Regions from separate parts of the Homo sapiens genome. Here region 1 is linked to region 2. Evidence: promoter capture Hi-C in 16 types of primary human blood cells and fetal thymus (Javierre and others, 2016). All regions are on one chromosome and are shown on one strand. The core of a region is centred on a gene start or on the middle of the fragment in contact, and the rest is flanking DNA. Distances in the headings are between cores, read along the strand shown.

The links. The method cuts DNA at HindIII sites, captures the fragments that hold promoters and counts their contacts. A CHiCAGO score of 5 or more calls a contact.
Region 1: the fragment with the promoter of ADAMTS5 here is called in contact with a fragment that was not itself captured in region 2 in 3 of 17 cell types (M0 macrophages, M1 macrophages and M2 macrophages); the score reaches 6.9 in M0 macrophages.

What each region holds. Positions count from the first base shown.
Region 1 is chr21:26,965,616-26,968,520 of GRCh38, reverse strand. It overlaps ADAMTS5 (ADAM metallopeptidase with thrombospondin type 1 motif 5), which reads left to right and starts at 1,433. Exons shown (of 8, transcript NM_007038.5): 1 at 1,433-2,905. The coding sequence starts at 2,130. LOC124905050 reads left to right here. Exons shown (of 3, transcript XM_047441063.1): 2 at 551-1,077; 3 at 1,437-1,865. The coding sequence ends at 1,865. The HindIII fragment of the contact is 6,499 bases long and covers 1-2,905 here.
Region 2 is chr21:28,231,101-28,234,007 of GRCh38, reverse strand. No RefSeq gene overlaps it. Among named protein-coding and RNA genes, the nearest start is that of LINC01695, 3.9 kb to the right of the region's middle. The HindIII fragment of the contact is 1,186 bases long and covers 792-1,977 here.

The DNA of each region.
Region 1 (2,905 bases), core at 184-2,683, 1.3 Mb after region 2:
GCGATCAGCTTGGGGCCCCATTAAGGCACCCGCCCTGCTATCCCCAGCGTAGCCAAAGTTAAACGTAGAAAAAGATGGAAATGTACAAATTACACCACATTCATTTTTCACTGGTGCATTAGTTAATTAGCCTGAAGAATAATTTGGGCATGGAGGGAGCTCTTACCCCTACAGTAGAAGGTAGACCTTCTAACCATAAGTCGTCGGGTTTTCCTTCTCCCTTCTTAGAATGATAATTAGAGGAAACAAAGAGGTCAGAGGAAACGAGTAGCAGTGATAATGTCACCCGCGTACTAATAAGCACCAATCTTCCTTCCGCCAAAAGTATTCTTTTTCTTCTAAAAGGAATTTCTGAGAATGAAGGTAGGTCAAGGCCTATGGCGATAAGTGGTTGCTTTAGAAGAGACAAAAACAGATATAGGAATTTATTATTAAAGTATCATTTAAGCAAAAAATAAAAGTATGAGCGCAAAATTTTAAAATCTTTCAGGGAAAAAAAATGAGCGGAATTCCCTCTAAGAGTTAACTCTTTCTCGCTCTGCCTTTTTAGAGCAAAGGAAGTTCCAGTGGGCTGGGAGTAAGGGACAGATTGTGGACCCTGACGAAAGGCGTGCTGGAGAAAGCTGGGAGCCCGCCGTTCGCACACAAAGCTGCGGAGTTCCCAAGCGGCGGGCGTTCTCGCCCCGGGGTACCGCAGCGCGCCAGGAAGCGCCCTGGGCTCTCTGGCTGTCCAGCCGCTCTGCTGGTGGCCGGGAGAAGTTAGTCACCCGGAGCCCGAATCCGGCGAGCGTCAAAGCATCAAGAGGCTGGAGAATGGGGAGGGAGGAAACCGGGTGCCGGGACGGAGGGGAGGAAGCGAAGGGAACGCGGTGGTTAGGGGACGCACGGGAAGCTGAAAAGCTCTGGCTGGTGGATGGAGTTGCACGGTCTGCGAGGCCAGAGCGCACGGGTGTGCAAAGGGGAAAAACTTGCGGCAGGAACTTCCCACCGAGGGCGAGAAAAGCAGGCAAGAAGGAGGCAGGGAGAGACTTGAAACGTCTCAATAACTTTAACCAAAACACCCGTTCAGGAGATGAGGTAAGCCAAGGTTAGCCAACCCCAATTGGTTGTGAAATATCAGACAGACCCGGAGCCGCTGTGGCTTTAAAAGTGGCCAAGGAAATCTGTTTTTCTTGCCCCATTACTTTTTATTTTCCCCTCTCCCCTCCTACCACCTCGCCGGGTCCCAGTCCCTTCCTCCTACTTCGTCTCCCTTTCCTCGATCACCCTCCTCTTTTGCCCTCCCCCATCTGATTAGGCGCGGACTGGGAAGGGTGGGAGTGGTGGGGGAAGCTCTCCCTTTAAGAGGCAGCGTGCAGTGACGAACTGTTGAAATTGCCATTGCAGGATGGCATGCCGCTATAAATTCATTGTTCCACCTCCTCGCATCTTCACAGCGCTCGCGCTGCTCTCGGCGCTCGCAGCTGCCGACTGGGGATGACGGCGGGCAGGAGGAGACCGCAGCCGAAGGGACACAGACACGCCGCTTCACCAGCTCGCCTCAGGCTGCCCCCCTGCATTTTTGTTTTAATTTTTACGGCTTTTTCCCCTCTCTTTCTTCCCTTCCTCCTGGTCCCAGCAGAGCCAAGGAAACCCACAAAATAAGAAAGGAAGTGGGCCCCGGAGCTTGGAACCTCCACAGCCGGCTTGTCCAGCGCAGCGCGGGGGCGGGAGGCTGCGCGCACCAGTTGCCAGCCCGGTGCGCGGTACCTTTCCTTACTTTTCTTGAAACAGCGATCGTGCCTGCATTTGGTGGTTTTTTGGTTTTTGTTTTTTTCCTTTTCCCGTATTTGCTGAATCTCCACTATCCGACTTTTTTTTTTTAATCTTTTCTTTCCCCCCCCCCCCACCCCACCTCTTTCTGGAGCACGAATCCAAACATTTTCCCAAGCAACAAAGAAAAGTTCGCACGCTGGCACCGCAGCCCGGACAGGCTGGCGCTGCTGCCGGGCCCCCCTCCCTCCGACACTTGACTCAATCCTGCAAGCAAGTGTGTGTGTGTCCCCATCCCCCGCCCCGTTAACTTCATAGCAAATAACAAATACCCATAAAGTCCCAGTCGCGCAGCCCCTCCCCGCGGGCAGCGCACTATGCTGCTCGGGTGGGCGTCCCTGCTGCTGTGCGCGTTCCGCCTGCCCCTGGCCGCGGTCGGCCCCGCCGCGACACCTGCCCAGGATAAAGCCGGGCAGCCTCCGACTGCTGCAGCAGCCGCCCAGCCCCGCCGGCGGCAGGGGGAGGAGGTGCAGGAGCGAGCCGAGCCTCCCGGCCACCCGCACCCCCTGGCGCAGCGGCGCAGGAGCAAGGGGCTGGTGCAGAACATCGACCAACTCTACTCCGGCGGCGGCAAGGTGGGCTACCTCGTCTACGCGGGCGGCCGGAGGTTCCTCTTGGACCTGGAGCGAGATGGTTCGGTGGGCATTGCTGGCTTCGTGCCCGCAGGAGGCGGGACGAGTGCGCCCTGGCGCCACCGGAGCCACTGCTTCTATCGGGGCACAGTGGACGGTAGTCCCCGCTCTCTGGCTGTCTTTGACCTCTGTGGGGGTCTCGACGGCTTCTTCGCGGTCAAGCACGCGCGCTACACCCTAAAGCCACTGCTGCGCGGACCCTGGGCGGAGGAAGAAAAGGGGCGCGTGTACGGGGATGGGTCCGCACGGATCCTGCACGTCTACACCCGCGAGGGCTTCAGCTTCGAGGCCCTGCCGCCGCGCGCCAGCTGCGAAACCCCCGCGTCCACACCGGAGGCCCACGAGCATGCTCCGGCGCACAGCAACCCGAGCGGACGCGCAGCACTGGCCTCGCAGCTCTTGGACCAGTCCGCTCTCTCGCCCGCTGGGGGCTCAGGACCGCAGACGTGGTGGCGGCGGCG
Region 2 (2,907 bases), core at 135-2,634:
TATCTGGGCCAGATAGCACAGTCCCTCACAGATTCCCTTGGCTAGGGGAGGGAGTTCCCCAGTCCCTTGCACTTACTAGGTGAAGCGACACCACACCCTGCTTCTGCTCGCCTTCTGTGGGCTGCACCCACTGTCTAACCATTCCCAATAAGATGAACCGGATACCTCAGTTGGAAATGCAGAAATCACCCATCTTCTGTGTTGATCTCACTGGGAACTGCAGACAGGAGCTATTCTTACTCGGCCATCTTGCCAGATCCCAACACAATTTTTAAGTTGCGCAACATTTTCAAGCAAATCTACAAACGTTATTTCTGACACTTTCTCATACAAAAGCCTCATTCATTCATGATTTCAACGAACCAATCAACACATTTATTTGTCATTTATTATATGCCAAGTGTCAGACAGTCTGGAGATTCTGGTGAATAATAAGCTTTCTGCCTTCATACAAAATTCTTTTGAGGGATACAAACAACTAACTGTACAATTACAATACAGTCCATTAGGAATTGTGCTTTGTAACATGGGAACGTACACACAGAGTCTAGACTGCCTGAGAGGAACTGGGGGTAGAATTAGCCAGTGAAGGAGGCTCTGGGAACAAGGATAGTTTTCCAGACACTTTGAAGAATAGAGAAAGAAGGCATATTTGAAAATTCAAAGAGCAAGCCCCGTAATGCAATGGTGAGAATTAGGGTTTTGGATTTAGACTTGTCTGAGTTCAAATCTGAGCCTCATCATTTCGTAACTGATGTGGTATTGTGTGACATGACAAACATGGCAAAGCTTCCTTTTCTTTTCAAATGATCAATTTGTGAAAAGAAAAGAAAATTCATTCTATCTGGAACATCTTTAGCAGGGATTGAAGGTGATTTGTTCCATAATGCATTAGGGACAGTATCTGTTATATACCAAGATCTTGATGAGTTGTGGCTAAGCTGGAGAGAGCTGGTATGAAGAACCCAGAGAGGGCCGACTGGAGGGCTTGGCTGGCAGTGGTCTTGTGGGTCATGTCCAGAATTTGGATATCATCTTAAGAGTCATGTGAAGAATCTGAAGGGCTTTAAGCCACGATGTTACACAATCAGATTACTATTTTGGAAAAATTTGATATTCAGATGTAGTCACATGGCAACATAAAAATGAAAAATATTTTATTTTGTAAGAAATTGCAAAGATAAAACTGAATAAAAACAAATAGGTAAATGTCAGCAAAAAGAATTAATACTGTTTAGAAATTTATACGTTATGTATTATTTTCCTATAAATAGAAAAGGCTTGACAGCCAAATCGTATCTTTAGAGACCCACACATGTTAGAGGATGTCTTTGGACCACCAAACTGTTACATAACTTGTTTATAATTCTAAGAAAAGCACATTACCATTCCAGTTGTTGACATATCCACATATGCAGAAAAGTAAAAGTCACATACCCAGAAGATGGTTAGAAATCTTGCTTGCAGTATTGTAACATTTGCAATTTTTACATATTAATACTTAGTTATTTTCTTATATTCTTGAACCAAGGTTTATGTGAAAAAAACTTTATTTCTACTGTCACATCTTATTTATTTTATTTTTATGTGTTGTCTTACCACATAATATAAAAGTATATATTCCCTGTTGGATTATTTGTTCTTTTCTATTTCACTGTGTAGGATACATATTAAATATTATTGATATTGCACTTCAGATGTGTCCACATCATAGTTCTCTGGGTTGAAATTAGTACATATTGTTTTCCTTCCATAATATATAACTTCCAGTGTTTTTCAAAAGTATGGTTCAAGGATCAATCATGTACAAAAAACCTAGGGAAGTGGAGTCCCTATTGTAAATGTAGATTCATTATTAACCCCACAGGTTTACTGAATCAACATATTTTGGGGATGGTGTCCTGAGACCTGCATTTAGAAATTACGTAAGAATCCACTCAAACTAATTTAGTGGATTCTCATCAGCTCTCTAAAGCTTATTTAGTGGATTCTTATGCAAATTCAGGTTAGCAAACTACTTCAGAATATGTGTGCAGCTCTTTTCTATTAAATAGACCTGGACTATCTCATAGTTGTTATGTCTGTAAGTCTTACTTAACTGGTAAAACAATAACCATGATAGAGTATCTTGGTTTCTGATAAGTTAATCAGAAATACAATCTCATAAATCATTGGTGGATAAGCTGATAATATATAGACTGATTAAATAATGTTTGCAAGGACAGAGAGATGAAAATTTGAACATTATCAACTTGAAAAGCATCCTCAGATGGTACTATGGACTAAATGTTTATGTTCCCCCTAAATTCATATGCTGAAACCCTAATCCATAATGTGATAATATTTTGAAGTGAGTCTTTTGGGAGTGATTAAGTTATGAGGGTACAGCCCTCATAAATGGCATTAGTGCCTTCATAAGAAGAGAGAGGAGAAAGATATTCTGTTTGTCTACTACATGAGGATATAGCCAGAAGCTGGCTGTCTGCAAACCAAGAAGACAGTACTCACCAGAAACCAAATGCGGCAGCACCTGGATCTTCAGAAGTGTGAGAATAAGTCTATAATTTAAGCCACTCAGTCTATGGTATTTTGGTATAGCAGTCCAAACTGGCTAAGACAGATGAAATGCATGTGGCCTCATCTAACTTATTTGTGTGCATGTGTGTTATTTTATTTAAATAAATTACATGTAGTATTTTCATATTGCCCAAAGCTAGAAGGGATAGCTAATTTGTAAGAATATTTAAAAGGATATCCATAGGCTGAAATAAAATTGACTATATGAAAATTAAACTTCAAATGTGAAATCCTATACTATTTTGAAGACATTAGCTATATAAATCCAGGATGTGTAAAGAGGTGGACTAAGGACAGTTTATTTGCAAAAGACAGGTAGATGGCTTTTGA